Linked DNA regions of Homo sapiens: region 2 is linked to region 1. The links are contacts of gene promoters, found by promoter capture Hi-C in blood cells and fetal thymus (Javierre and others, 2016). All regions are on one chromosome and are shown on one strand. The core of a region is centred on a gene start or on the middle of the fragment in contact, and the rest is flanking DNA. Distances in the headings are between cores, read along the strand shown. Region 1 overlaps DCTN2 (dynactin subunit 2). Region 2 holds the start of TSFM (Ts translation elongation factor, mitochondrial).

The links. Contacts are between HindIII fragments. The CHiCAGO score rates a contact against its expected background, and 5 or more counts as called.
Region 2: the fragment with the promoter of TSFM here is called in contact with a fragment that was not itself captured in region 1 in 4 of 17 cell types (non-activated CD4 T cells, neutrophils, M1 macrophages and 1 more); the score reaches 6.4 in non-activated CD4 T cells.

The regions. Positions count from the first base shown.
Region 1 is chr12:57,529,585-57,537,298 of GRCh38, forward strand. DCTN2 (dynactin subunit 2) reads right to left here. Exons shown (of 14, transcript NM_001261413.2): 3 at 6,165-6,261; 4 at 5,900-5,961; 5 at 5,472-5,570; 6 at 4,708-4,868; 7 at 4,369-4,513; 8 at 3,654-3,719; 9 at 3,400-3,438; 10 at 3,149-3,226; 11 at 2,988-3,059; 12 at 2,629-2,731; 13 at 2,431-2,522; 14 at 467-1,191. The coding sequence ends at 1,105. MBD6 (methyl-CpG binding domain protein 6) reads left to right here. Exons shown (of 13, transcript NM_052897.4): 13 at 1-564. Among named protein-coding and RNA genes, the nearest start is that of MBD6, 11 kb to the left of the region's middle. The HindIII fragment of the contact is 8,717 bases long and covers 1-6,428 here.
Region 2 is chr12:57,777,979-57,785,692 of GRCh38, forward strand. TSFM (Ts translation elongation factor, mitochondrial) reads left to right here and starts at 4,809. Exons shown (of 6, transcript NM_005726.6): 1 at 4,809-4,880; 2 at 5,132-5,305. The coding sequence starts at 4,824. It overlaps EEF1AKMT3 (EEF1A lysine methyltransferase 3), which reads left to right. Exons shown (of 3, transcript NM_015433.3): 3 at 2,277-4,563. The coding sequence ends at 2,668. RefSeq lists enhancers at 4,570-5,439, 4,793-4,862. The HindIII fragment of the contact is 6,425 bases long and covers 1,940-7,714 here.

The sequences.
Region 1 (7,714 bases), core at 820-3,319:
CGATTTCATTGCCTCCCTTCTTAAAGCCAACAGGCTCAGTTTACAAACCTGTGAGCTACTGTTGGCTGCTGCCCTCCTTCCCAGTGAAAGGTACAAAGCAATAAGCATCATGCATCCTCCCCTTACCCCTCCAACACCCCTCTGCCTCTGGCTCAGGTTGCTCAAAGCACAGATCCTCTCTTACCCCGTCCCCAGGTTTGAAACACATAGCCTCATTTCAAGGTGTAGCCAGGTTCCCCCGACTTTCCTCTGGGATATAAAAAAGGGGGTAAGGGGGCAAAGAGAGCCCTCTGGGCCTCTCCTCCCATACACACTACACTGCCCCTTCTCCCCCCATCAAAACGCTCAGAGACGTTGTGATGATGCGACTGAGGATTATGCAACGTGGTCCAACCGGAGCGGCCAGCATGACCAGCTGTCCAGGGGCTGCCTCCTGCCTTTTCTTTTGTAAAGACAAGACCCTTGGGAGTTTTAATTCTGTTTTGTACTTGCCCTGTGGGGCCTCCACTGCTTTTCTATGGGAGACACTCTTAATTTAACAGATGAGAATATTTTGAAACTCTGGCTCTGGCTCTGTACTCATTTTTTATTTAGTTCTTTGGTAAGAACAGGTTACAATTTAAATCCATCTCTTGTAGTATAGAGTGGCTTAGATTGCCTGTTATGACGAATGAATATCTATATCCTAGTGCTGCTTCCTCCCCAGGAAACACAGCAGAGGCCACACAGAGTACAACAGCATTTAATGGTCAGAAACAGTTGTACAGTATTACAGTCAGCCACAGAAGCTGTGTTGGGGGACAAGACCCAATCCTTCCCCACACCAGGCAAAGCAGTATTGGACATGAGTTGGCATGTGGCTGGGCCCACGTCCTTATCCCCCAGGCCTGAGGGGAGACCACCTTCTGATGATAACCAACCCCTAGCTACCACTCTGTATTCATCAGGGGAGGGGTATAAACCCCACATGCAAGAAGAACCCTTGCCCCCAGTGTCAAATGGGATGGGGATGCTAGAGTTATAGTAAAGGGGAAACCCTATGTAAGCTGTTAACAGAGTTCACAGGGGTAGGGATAACCCCTGTTCTCCAGCTCCCAAATGTGCTCACTTTCCCAGCTTCTTCATCCGTTCATCAATGCTGGCAAAGTTCCCCTCAACTGTGGCCAGGTTTTCACGCATGGTTGTCTGCACCTACAAAGTGGTAGAGAGGTTTTACTCTTTGTCAGGTCCAGTTGCTTAACTGGATGAGGACCTGAAGGAATTCTCTGAGAGAGAAGACAAGAAATGGAAGCACAATTTGTGGGCCACAGAGGGGGGATGTTTATAGCACCAATTTTCAAGCTACCCTTAGAGTACATAGACCACGCTTGGGGTGAGCCCAAGCAGGTAGGACTCGAGAATTCCCATCCTGACTTCAGCCAGAACAGTTTTTTAAAATCTGTTTTATGTAATGAGAGCTAAATAAGATTTTGTTGAAATGAGGGTTTCACTGGTTCAAAATGTTAGAAAACTGCTCTGGAGGAAAAGGATATTATTCTAAGTCCTTTATATATTTTTTCATTTATCTCAGTGATCCTGTGATTGATGCTGGTCTCTCGACTTTAATGCTCCTTCCAGCACTGAGAACAGTGCCTCCAACAGAAATTGGGACTTGCGGCCAGGTGCAGTGGCTCACGCCTGTAATCTCAGCACTTTGGGAGGCCGAGATGGGTGGGATCACTTGAGGTCAGGAGTTTGAGACCACCCTGGACAACATGGTGAAACCCCGTCTCTACTAAAAAAAAAAATTAGGTGTGGTGGTGCGTGCCTGTAATCCCAGCTACTCAATAGGCTGAGGCATGAGAATTGCTTGAGCCCGGGAGGTGGAGGCTGCAGTGAGCTGAGATCACACCACTGCACTCCAGCCTGGGCAACAGAGCGAGACTCTGTCTTAAAAATAAAAAACAATAAGAAATTGTGGACTTGCTGTGTGCCAGGCATTACTAAAAGAATGAAGGAGCTAGGTGAGGCTCATTGTCCAGGGCCAGAAAGGAAGCGACAGAACGAGATTAGGGCCTGCTTCTGACTTCAAAGCCCGGATTCCTTCCAGTGTACTGTGCTTATCAGGGAGAGTAAAGTTGAGACGACAAAGGGAAAGAGTGGGGTTTTATAAGAAAACATGTTCACTAGCCCCTAACAATTTGCCCATATTATTTCACCTCATCTACATAACTCTGAGGGAGGTATAATTTCCCAGATGGAAAGATGGAGGTTCATAGGTTAAATAAGTTGTCAAAGGGCCTTCACATTGAAAGCAGGATGGAGACTCCAGACCAACCCCCTGCCACAACACCATGCTACAAAATAGGCTAAGGCAGAACCCTATAACACTGGAGAACCTAGTTTGCACATGCTGGAGAAAGGAGGACAGATCAACAAAGGGGCACACACCTGGGTCAAGAGGGTGGTATTGTCCTTCAAGGAATTAGCAATCATCTGCTGGGTGGTATCCAAGTGTGTCAGGAGCTGACCAAACTGCATGGCTACAAAAGAAAAGTATGGTTGAGACTTGAATCCAAGATAAGGGAGGGGACCAAAAGTTGCCCATTTTTCAACTTCTCTTAGCACTCCTGGCAGCTGGCCTCCCACCTTGCTCGTGCAGCTGCTTGATGGTGACAAGTCTCTGCACCAGCTCAGGGAGGGTGGAGGCAATGGGGCTCCAGCGCTGTATAGTTTCATATAGCTGGTGCACCTGAAGGGACACAATGGGGCCCAGAGGGGATGGCTGAGGCAGCCAGGTCAGTATGTACAGACTGCTATTTCACCGTAATGGGGGAAAGGATCAAGTGGGCAGAGGGAAGCAGTGCCCTGACTTTCCAAGCTGATAAGCTCTTCATAAGAGCTTATGAAGATGGGGACCTGAGGAGTCAGTGTGTTCTCATGCTTTGACACTGCCACTCGGAGAACCTGAGGGAGTGGAAAGGAGATGGGGAAGGTGTCTTCCTGACCTTGCTTTGTGTATCTGCATCTTCTACAGAGGCTTTATGCTTGGCAATCTCGTTCACCTTTCCCAGGACACTCTGAAAACACAGATTTTAAGGTTGATAGGGCATCCAGGGCTTCCAGAGTCCCAAGCTATCCATAATTTAATTTTCCCTCCATTTAATACCTGTAGCCGAGCCTCCACTTGATCCAAAACTGCAAGGTCTAGGGCGCTCACCTTTGCTTGCAACAGCTCTACAGTCTCCTGGGGATGGAAGTTGGGACAAGCATCATGAAGAGGAAAGGCAGACTAGCAAGAGGCCTCCCATATTCCACTAAATTAATATATAGCTACAAACTCAAAAATAATCCTCAAAGCAAACCCAAACCCAACTATCCCCTCTGTGATCCAAACACTCCAGTTTCTTCCAAACTCACCATGAGACAGGCTCCCTGTAGACCTGCAGAAAGGGGATTCTGGTGGGAAAGGAAGGGAAGAAGTGAGTGGTCCTTATATCTCCATGATTATCGTCTTCTCCCATCTTTCCTGGTTCTAGCTGGGAACCCACTAGCTGATCCCTGTAACTGAAGCCCTTTGATGACTCCTCCCAGGCTTATGTGGAATGTTGTAGACCTTAAGGCCTAGAGTTGCAGGATCTAAGGCTCAGATTATGTACAGGAGAACACCTGACCTGAGCATCCTGATCACAACGTACAGCTGTCTCCAGCTCTGTCAGGCGCTTTTCAAGTTCTGCGACCTAGTGGGAGGAAGGAGGTGAGATTTGCCATCTGCTTCCCTGCTGCTGCAATGGGAGGAATACGATCCTGCTCTACTCTGCCTGCCACTCACCACCCCAAGGGATTCCTTTCCCTGGAATACATACCTAGCCACAATCTTAAAATCCTAACCAAAGGTAGATGGGCGAGGGAAACATAGAGAATGAGGTCGGGCGCGGTGGCTCACGCCTGTAATCCCAGTGCTTTGGGAGGCCGAGGCGGGCGGATCACGAGGTCAGGAGATCGAGACCATTCTGGCTAACATGGTGAAACCCCATCTCTACCAAAAATACAAAAAATGAGCCGGGCGTGGTGGCAGGTGCCTGTAGTCCCAGCTACTCAGGAGGCTGAGGCAGGAGAATGGCGTGAACCCGGGAGGCGGAGCTTGCAGTGAGCCAAGATTGCGCCACTGCACTCCAGCCTGGGAAACAGTGCAAGACTCCGTCTCAAAAAAAAAAAAAAAAGAAAGAAACATAGAGAACAACGAATCAGGAATCAAAAGAGGAATCAATCAAGAGGAATCAGAGGAATCAGAAGCCTTCCCAGCACCCTCTCCTTGGAGAGAGGCAGGAAAATCTCTAGGGTCACATCTCCCCTTGGCTTCCCAACCAACACTGTATCCACACTTACTTTGGCAGCTTGAGAGAACTTGTCCTGCTCAGGCCGAGAATGTAGTTCATAAGTGACAAGGCTGCTATCTGGGGGGGTCCCAGTGGTTTTTCCCCCTGATCCCCCTTTGCTGTTCTTTGTTGCTTCCAGCTGCAGTAGTAGGCGCCTAGTTAGGAGACCGAGTAATAATATCATGACTGGAAGGAGAAGGGCCAGTCACTCTCCCTCACTTTTGCCTCATAATCAGCATTAAGAAACATCTAAGCCACTTCTCTGCCACTTAGCACCCCTGTCAGTAGCTGGCTGAGTCCATCCACAACCCCAGTCAGCAATGATTTTTCAACAAAGTAGGGTACCCACTTAGCCAGGGCGCCATCGGGGTCGGTAAGGTTGATTGCAGCATCTGGTCCCAGCAGCTTCTCCAGGTGGGAAGCAACCAGCTGCTGCTTCAGGGCTGCCAGCTGTTTAGCCAGCAACACAGGGGTCAGCTTCTCCTCTGTGGCTGACTCCTTCACTGTCGTCTAGTATGAAAAAAGGTAGAAATCGGGGGATGGCAAGAATGAATCAAGAAGCAAAAAAATAGGTCAAGCCCTTTAAAGGTAGTTGTAGCTGGAGGTCACTGGGATGGTTTTCAGCATGACAGACTGCCCACCTGTATGTAGCACTGCATACAGATGGATGCATATTTGTAAACTCTGGAAACCTTAGCCCCTTTATCCAGGAGCTTAAGGAATCTTTCTTTCTTTCATTTTTTGAGATGGAGTCTCGCTCTGTCACCCAGGTTGGAGTGCAGTGGCATGATCTGGGCTCACTGCAACCTCCGCCTCCGAGTTCAAGCAATTCTCCTGCCTTAGCCTCCCGAGTAGCTGGGATTACAGGTATGCGCCACCACACCTGGCTAAGTTTTTGTATTTTTTTAGTACAGATGGGGTTTCATCATGTTGGCCTGGCTGGTCTTGAACTCCTGACCTCAGGTGATCCGCCTGCCTCGGCCTCCCAAAGTGGTAGGATTATAGGCGTGAGCCACCGCACCCAGCCAGGCAGGGAATCTTTCTCTTCTTGCTTGAGGTCTTCCTCTACTGTGTAAGTCACAGCAGAGAAGGGAGAAGAGAGTTTGTAGTTACCTTGATTTTTTCAACTTCAGTTGTCAGCTCTTGGACCTCATGCAGTAGGCGCTGGTACTTTTGCTGGGGTGTCTCCTTCACTCCCAGACCCTCTCCAAGCTAGAGAGCAGGCACAGAGGGTAATGTTATATGTCTCATTACAGGGAGCCTCAAGAATTCATCCACACCCTGGGCCTAAGTCATAAAGGTATCATATCCAATTGAGAATCCACAACACCCTAGTACCAAAGAACTGAGGACAGCTAGAGGGCTGGAGGCTCTCCAGAACAAACAGCAGTAGGGCAGAGTTTCCCTGGCTGCATCCTGCTGCTTCCTCAGGAACAGAGGAGGAACAGAATCCCGCCTGTATCCCTTGATCTCCCTACTACATGTCTGCTAGATAGGGTCACTACACCATTCCCATCAACACACACACACACACAACAAACCATCTCATATTCTCCAGATTCATATCCTGTCCTCTTGGTTTTTCCAATACGATCTGAGAAATCTGCCAAGAAAAGAAGATGGAACTGAGGGCCTGATCTAGGCCCAAGGCAGTCATGGTCTCAGGTGACTGTGAGGGCTTCCATAAAATATCTCCATGAGGGACCCCTTCCCCCAAGCACAACTCACTAAGACTTTAGGACAGGAAACCACTTCTCATGCTTATCCTCCAGTCTTCCCCCCACCCAGCTTCCAGCCCAGTCTCACCAAGTCCCTTTGTCCCCACTCTCTTGTCCTTGAACTTGTCATAGGCAGCATTAGGATTGACAATGATGTGTTCCACACTTGTGCTTGTCAGCTCCTCCTGCAAGAACAGGTAGTTTAGGCCAGGGACACACTCATTCCCACTCTAGAACTTACTCTACCCCACAAAATCCCCAAACCATTAGGTGACTGGGCCCTACTTGTCCAAGGGGAAAGAAGGGTGGCTCTATTCCAAGGCGCCTACCCAGGCTTAACCTAGGAAACTGAAGCTTCCTGGTAAATTTGGAGCCTCAGTTGTATAAATATTAACACCCTCATTCAACTGGGAGCAGAGGGAGCATAACCTCCCCACCCTCTCTGTACATAAGCCTTCCCATCCCCCCATGCTACCCCTCCCAGTTGTCTGGCACACGCCATGCACTCAAGGCAAGAAACCAACCTGACCTCTTTTAACCTCCCCCTCCCAAAAGTAAATCTTGCCCGCTGAGCAAGTCCATTTTAATGCTAACCTCCCATCCTTGCTAGAAGGAAAGAGGAGGGAAGGCAGATAATCAGGCCACTAACACTGAGTGTGAATATTAGGACTTTAAACCTGTTGAAGGTAAGACACAAGCTCTTAGTACAAAAAGAAGGCCGACAGAGGGCCTGACCAGAAGCCTGATTTCCAGGCTGCCATGAGGCCAGCGAACTCAGGGACAGGGAGAAGGGGCAAGGGCTTACTGGATTATCTTTATGGGACATCTTAGAAGCAACAAACATAGGCAATATCTGCTTGCCAAGAGTATCCATGGGCAAGAGCCACATGTAAGCTCTGAAATGGAGATAAACCAGCATCTCTTCAGAGACGCTGCAGCACCTGATTTTTCTCCCTGACTCCTCTGCTATGCTTTAAGCACTGAAGCTCTTCCAAAAACAGGGGACACAAGTAGGCGGTGAAAGAGACTTCACCCTAGAAACTGAAGCAGAGAGGTTCCCTCCTTACTAGATATCTACATGCTGTTCAGATTCCAGTGACAACACCAAGACTGCACCAAGCACTCCTGACTGCATGTCCCTTTTTCAATTGTCAGAAGCCTGACAGCTCCCAACAGAGTACTGATGGAAGTAGGAGGGAGACCCAGGAGTCCTTTTCTGTTGGGGATGACATCTCTACCTTCTATGGGAGGAAGGCAAAATGAGCCTTCCTTCTTTCACCTAGAACAATGGTTCTCACCCCAGGCTGCATGTTAGAATCACTTATAATTTTTTTTTTTTTTTAAATAGACAGCCGGGCAATGGTGGCTCAAGCCTGTCTGTAGTCCCAGCACTTTGGGAGGATCCTAATTCCAAGTGATCCACCCGCCTCGGCCTCCCAAAGTTCGGCCAAGGCGGGTGGATCTCAGGAGTTCAAGACCAGCCTGGGCAACATAGGGAAACCCCAACTCTACAAAAAATATAAAATAGCTGGGTATTGTGGCACGTGCCTGTGGTCCCAGCTACTCAGGAGGCTGAGGTGGAAGGGTCACTTGAGCCTGGCAGGTGGAGGATGCAGTGAGCAGAGATCATGCCACTGC
Region 2 (7,714 bases), core at 3,559-6,058, 250 kb after region 1:
ATTGCCCTCCAGCCTGGGCAACAAGTGCGAGACTCCATCTCAAAAAAAAAAAAAAAAAAATGCCCCGTTGGTGATCATGACTCTAAGACTATCCCATTTCTATCTCCAGACTTGCTTGCATAACCTAGTGCCTACTCAGTATCTTCATGTGGTTGTCTGATGTGATATAGAAGTCCATGTCAAACTTAACGTGCTCAGAAAATGAACTCATGATCTTCCTGTCCAAATTGCGCCTCCTGCAACCTTTCTCATCTAAATGAGTGGCAATTTGGTCTTCTAGTTGGTCAGGCCAAACACCCAGAAACCATCCTGAGCTTTTTTTTTTTTTTTGAGACAGGTTCTCACTCTGTTGCCCAGGCTGGAGTGAAAGTAGCACAATCATGGCTCACTAAAGCCCTGAACTTTCAACCTCCCGAGGCTCAAGCAATCCTCTGACCTCAGCCTCCCGAGTAGCTGGGACTACAGGATGTGCCACCACACCCAGCTAATTTTTGTATTTTTTATAGAGACGAGGTTTTGCTATGTTGCCCAGACTGGTCTCAAACTCCTGGACTCAAGCAGTCATCCCGCATTGGCCTCCCAAAGTGTAATCCAAAGGGATTACAGGCGTGAGCCACTGTGCCTGGCCCATCCCAAGCTTTTCTCTCTCTCTCATATTTTATATCCAATCTATTGGCAAATCCTGTTGACTCTACCTTCAAAATATATTCAGGATCTGACCATTTCTTAGCCATTGCTACTGCCCTGGTTTAAACCATCATCATCTCTCACCTGAGTCATTGCCATCACCTCCTAACTGGTCTCCTAGCTTCTGACCTTGCCCTCCTGTACTCTTCTCATCATAGCAGCCAGCATGCTCCTCCTAAAGCATGCCAGCGTGTGCCATTCTTTTTTTTTTGAGACAGAGTCTTGCACTTGTTGCCCAGGTCGGAGTGCAATGGCACAATCTCGGCTCATTGCAACCTTCGCCTCCCAGGTTCAAGCGATTCTCCTGCCTCAGCCTCCCTAGTAGCTGGCATTACAGGCGCCCGCCACCACACCCAGCTAATTTTTTTGTATTTTTAGTAGATATGGGGTTTCACCATTTTGGTCAGGCTGGTCTGACCACTCAATTTAAAATTTCATTCTCCAGCCACTCAATTTAAAATTACATTCAGGCTGCCAAGACTTTGTCCTCTATGCCCTGGGGTCTCTGGACCTTCCAGGTAGGAGCCGAGAACCCTTGGTTGGTCCCTCTAACTTGCATTTCTCCCCATCCCTCAAGCAATTCTTATCCCCCTTCCCTGCTTGGGGCTTCACCATGGCATATATTACCATCTGATGTACAGTGTATTTTATTTTATTTATTTTGTTTGTTGTTATCATCTGTTTCTTGCCACTGGACCATAAGCTCTGTGAGGGGGGATTCTTATCTTCTTAGTTCATCATTATGTTCTCAGCACTTGGCATATAGGCACATAATAAATATGAATGAATGAATGGATTCCTAGTACTTCTTGCTTCTCTTTCTATCATAGTCATCATGATTATGATGCAGTACCTAGTGTGTCTCTACCTCTAGAATGAAACAAAGAAAGCTGTGTTTTTGTCTTGCTCACCTTATATACCCAGCACTTAGAAGGTTCTCCAAATTATATCTACTGCATGAATGAAGGTTTCTGAGATGCTAATCTGACCATCTTCACCCGTTTCTGCCCTTAAAGCTTACTGCCCTCAGTATCGAACCTGAATCTTCTTAGCATGTCATAATCACTTTCCCTTTGTCTCATGTCTTGACACTTTTCTCCCCCTTCCACATCCTCTAAGATGCAGCCTTTCCTGAATATGCCATGCTCTTTCACTCCCAGGCCTTTGTACTCACTGTTCTCTTCTTGGAAAGCTCCACCTGACTAACTCCTACTTGTCCTTTAGGGCTCAGCTGAGGTCACATTTTCTGGGAAGCTTTCCAGACCCTTAAGGCGAGCTTGTGTCAGTGGGGGTGGGTACAGAACCCATCTCCAGCTTAGTCCTGCCCAGGCTTCTGCTGACATCTGATTGTTGTGTGTTGGCCAGAGAGGTTGAAGATTAGCTCAGAGAGAATGTTGATGTTGTAGAATGTAGAGTAATGAGAATAGCAGTGGGTGAAATGGAGGTTGAGGCAACTAAAAGCCAGTGTGGGCTCTGGGCTGTCAAGACATTGTCCTCTATGCTCTGAGGTCTCTGGACCTTCCAGGCAGGAGCCAAGAACCCTTGGTTGGTTCCTCTGACTTGCATTTTTCCTCCTTCCTCTCTCTCAGGGGGGGATGTTACCATCACTGACCTGCCCCTGGCCCTAGAACAGATCCAGGGCAACGTCCAGGCCAATGTGCCAGCTGGAGGCCAGGCCCAGGTGCGTGCCTTGTCCTGGGGGATTGACCATCATGTCTTCCCTGCAAACTATGACCTGGTGCTGGGGGCTGATATCGTGTACCTGGAACCCACCTTCCCTCTGCTGCTGGGGACCCTCCAACACCTGTGCAGGCCCCATGGCACCATCTATCTGGCCTCCAAGATGAGAAAGGAGCATGGGACAGAGAGCTTCTTTCAGCACCTCCTGCCCCAGCATTTCCAACTGGAGCTGGCTCAGCGGGATGAGGATGAAAATGTCAACATCTATAGGGCCAGGCACAGGGAACCAAGACCTGCTTGACATCACCCTTGCTGTTCTTCTCAATCTCTTGCTCTAATGAAGGAACTGTGTATCTCAAAAACCATATTTCCAGAGCCACAAACATGAGGACCAAAAAGGATGGATTTCCCTGGCCTCTCTCACTTTCCTCCTTCCCTCTTTGTTACCCCAGATACTCTTGGGCAGGTGCAGTGAGGTGCCTGCTTACAAGGAATCCCAGAGTTCTGGCAGCACTAGTGTTAGAACACCAAGGAGGTTCCTGGCTCCTGTTCTCAGAGAAGGAGGATGGTAAGGTATCCAGGATTTTTAGGGGGTAAGGGAGATATATGGGATGTGAGAGCAGTGATTGTAGACAGACTGTCACTGATCACTTCCATTCCTGTTGCTGTTTACACAGAATGGACTTTAAAAAAATTCTGTGGGATTTTTTTTTCTTTTTTTCTTTTTTTTTGAGACAGGGTCTCACTCTGTCATCCAGGCTGGAGTGCAGTGGTGTGATCACAGCTCACTGCAGCCTCAACCTCTGAAGGCCCAGATGATCTTCCTGCCTCAGCTCCCCAAGTAGCTGGGACTAGAGGCATGCGCCACCACACCCGGCTAATTTTTGTATTTTCAGTAGAGACAGGGTTTCGCCATGTTGCCCAGGGTGGTCTCAAACTCCTGGGCTCAAGTGATCCACCCGCCTTGCCTCCCAAAGTGCTGGGATTGCAGGCATGGCCCACTGTGCTAGCCTAGGATTTTTTTTTTTTTTTAAGAAAGAATTAAGCCTTAAAAATCTATTGTGCAAGAACCCAACTTTTACTCAGGAGCTGAGAAGGAAGAAGCCTCAAACCACCCATTTCCTGCTTTTTAGAGATAGAGTCTAGTGGAACCATGGCTCTAACTGGGTCAAGTCCTCCTAGCTCTGAAGCTAAGGCTGCAGAGCTGTCCTTTGGACTGTATTTCTTCATGCTTTCCAGAGTTAGAGCCTTGATCACGGAACATCATTGTGTGCAGAAGAATACTGTACCTAGTACTAAGTTCTTTTCATCTTTGATTTTTCTTTAGCTTCATCAGTCCTTCCTTCCTAATCTCTAATCCCCTGAAGCCTAACACAGTTCCTAATGTGTTTTGCCTTAACCTCTTTTCTCTTCCCACATTGGTACTTCTGGTTGGGGCTCTCTTTACTTACTGCTTAGGCACATAGTCACCTTCTCTGGACTCCCTGCTTCCATGCTTTCTCCTTCAGTCCATTCCGCAAACTCTTGTGATCTTCCAAAATTAGCTCTGATTAGCTTTCACTTCCTGTAGAAGCAAGAACAAGCTCCTCTGCTTGGTACTTAGTCTGTGTCCATGTGATCCAAAATTACCTTCCTATTGCATTTCCTACTCCTTTGCTACGTGTATTGGACCTCTGGCCAAATTACAAAAGATGTACTCTTTGTTCTCTAAAACCACACTAAAGTTTTCTGACTTCTTTCACACTCTTTATGATAATCCTCTGCCTGAAAGGCTATTGCCACCTGTCAAAATCTTCATTATTCTTTGCCTCTTTCCTGAGCCTCTTGCTTGAATGTGATTTCTTTCTCCCTGAGACCCATAAGGTTCATCTTATGGGACCTTAATTTGTCTTGCATGGACATTTGTGATTCTCATTTTCTCACCATTAAATTACCTTGGAGGGTAGGGCTGTGGTTTACTCCTGTCTAAACCCCTGAAGCCTAACACAGTTCCTGGCACACAACAGGTGTTCAACAGATATTGTGCTCATTCAATAAATATTTACTCGCTTTGTTTAATGGATTCCACCCCTGCCTTCCTAGGTGACCTTGGACAAATTCTCGAACCCATTCACCAACCACACAAGTTTGTTGTGAGTCATAAATGGATAATGAATATAAATGCGCATTGAAAATAAACATAAAATGTTACCCACATTTCTTGTGTTGTTGTTTTGTGACGACTTTATTTCTTGGTTTCTGTTATTTTACCTGGGGTGGGAGGTGGGGGGTAATTCCCGTATGAAATGTGTCGTCTCAAGAAATCAAGTAGAGGCGAGGACTGTGTTCCTCCGGCCAGCAGGTGGCACCATACTCGTTTGGTGCGTTCCGCTGGAGAATTCTGGCCCTTCCGCCGCGCCGTAGGTTTGTTGCCTCACCAGTGCGCCCGCCGGAGGGTGTTTATCGCGGCTAGAGAGATGTCGCTGCTGCGGTCGCTGCGCGTGTTTCTGGTCGCGCGGACCGGGAGCTACCCGGTGAGAAGTCCTGGTGCTGGTACCGACCTGCTGTCCCTGCAGCTCTCCTGTGCGCCTGTACCTTTCCCTTCCTCCCAACCTCGTTTGACTCCATCTCACCTTCCCCGACAGCATTGCCTCTGCCCAGTCCAGCCCCGGTGCACCCCCCTTTGCACACTGTCCGCTCCCTAAGGTCGCTTCCCTGCCCGTGTACCCTTCACCCTCTGGAGTTTGCTGCTTCCTGCTCCTCATCCCTTTCTTATCTCATCTAGGCTGGGTCTCTTCTGCGTCAGTCGCCCCAGCCAAGGCACACATTTTATGCTGGGCCCCGTCTGTCTGCCTCGGCCTCCAGCAAGGAGCTCCTCATGAAGCTGCGGCGGAAAACAGGCTACTCCTTTGTAAATTGCAAGAAAGCTCTGGAGACTTGTGGCGGGGACCTCAAACAGGTGTGTGTGTGGAGGGGTGCAGGGCGGAGTACTAGAGCTCGACCTCAGACTCTTGGGGCGGTCACGCTGGGGAGCATAAAGTTAGACTGCTCTTCAGTGACCATAATGGCACAGTCCTAAGTGGAAATCTGGCTTAAATGACAACCTTGGCCTTGACTTTGTCTTATTTGAAAGCAGTTGAGTATCCCAGGATTAACAAACCAGACTGTTACGGTGTTTCTTGTTGCCTGGAGCTGAAAGGGTTTGTGTGAGCTTTGGAGTCAGATTGTTCAGGAGTCAAATTGTGGGGCCCCCACACTGTCTGACTTTAGACTTTTTTTTTTTTTTTCAGACGGAGTCTTGCTCTGTGGCCCAGGCCGGCGTGCAATGGCACGATGTTGGCTCACTGCAACCTCCGCCTCCCGGGTTCAAGCGATTCTCCTGCCTCAGCCTCCTGAGTAGTTGGGATTACAGGCGTGCGCCACGACACCCGGCTATTTTATTTTTTATTTTTTATTTTTTTTTGTATTTTTAGTAGAGATGGGGTTTCGCCGTGTCGGCCAGGCTGGTCTCGAACTCCTGGCCTCAGGTGATCCGCCCGCCTCGGCTTCCCAGAGTGGTGGGATTACAGGAGTGAGCCACCGCGCCCGGCTGACTTTAGACATCTTAATCTTTCAGAGTTGTGTAGTTTTTGCCTGTACGGTCATGCGTCTCTTAATAGGAAGATACATTCTGAGAAATGGCGTCGTTAGGAGATTTTGGCTTATGCACATCATAGAGTACCTACACAAACCTAGATGGTATATTGTACTACAACCTGGGCTATATGGAATTGCCAGCTGCTCCTAGGCTACAAACCGTTACAAAATGTTACTGGACTGAATACTGTAGGCAGTTGTAACACAGTGGTAAGTATTGTGTATCTAAACATAGAAAAAGTACAGTAAATAGGCATAAAAGATAAAAAACGATACATCTCCATAGGGAACTTATCATGTATGGAGCTTGCAGGACTGGAAGTTGCTCTGGGTGAGTCAGTGAGTGGTGAGTGAATATGAAGGCCTGCCTTAGGACACTATGGTGCACTATAGTAGACGTTAAAGCACAGTACACATAAGCTACATTACATTTATAAGAAATTTTTTTCTGTGATAATAAGTTAACCTTAGTTTAATGTAACATTTTTATTTTATAAACTTTTAACATGTTTTAAATTTTTGGACTCTTTTGTAATAACAGCATAAAACACATATTGTACAGCTGTACCAAAATATTTTTCTTTATGCACTTTTTCTGTGAGCTTTTTTCTGTTTTTAAAATTTTAAACTTTTTTTGGCTGGGCGTGGTGGCTCATGCCTGTAATCTCAGAACTTTGGGAGGCTGAGGCAAGCGGATCACCTGAGGTTGCGAGTTCGAGACTAGCCTGACCCACACGGAGAAACCTCGTCTCTACTAAAAAAAAATAAAATTAGCCTGGTGTGGTGGCAAGGGCCTGTAATCCCAGCTACTCGGGAGGCTGAGGTAGGATAATCTCTTGAACCCAAAAGGCGGAGGTTGTGGTGAGCCGAGATCGTGCCATTGCACTCCAGCCTGGGCAATAAGAGTGAAACTCTGTCTCAAAAAAAAAAACAACAACTTTTTTTATTGAAATATCTTTTTTTTTTTTTTTTTTTTTTTTTTTTGAGACAGAGTCTTACTCTGTCCCCCAGGCTGGACTGCAGTGGCACAATCTTGGCTCACTGCAAGCTCCACCTCCCAGGTTCACACCATTCTCCTGCCTCAGCCTCCTGAGTAGCTGGGACTACAGGCGCCCGCCACCACGCCCGGCTAATTTTTTGTATTTTTAGTAGAGACAGGGTTTCACCGTGTTAGCCAGGATGGTCTCGATCTCCTGACCTTGTGATCCGCCCACCTCAGCCTCCCAAAGTGTCGGGATTACAGGCGTGAGCCACAGCGCCTGGCCAAAACTTTTTTTAAGTTAAAAAATTGTTTTGTTAAAAACGGAGACACAAACACATACATTAGCCTAGGCCTACACAGGAGTGGCATCATCATTAACACTGTGTTCCACTTTCACATCTTGTCCTGCTGGAAGGTCTTCAGGGGCAGTAACGGGCATGGACCTGTCATCTCCTATGATAACAATGTTTTTTTCTGGAATACCTCTTGAAGGACCTGCCTGAAGCTGTTTTACTGTTAAATTTTTTTATTTTTTATTTTTTTGAGACGGAGTCTCACTTTGTCACCCAGGCTGGAGTGCAGTGGCGCGATAGATCTTGGTTCACTGCAACCTCCGCCTCCCGGGTTCAAGAAATTCAGCCACCCGAGTAGTTTATAAGTTGGAGTACACTCTAAAATAACAATAAAGCATATGTATTATAGTAAATACATAAGCCAGTAACATAGTTGTTCATTATTGTTTCAAGTATC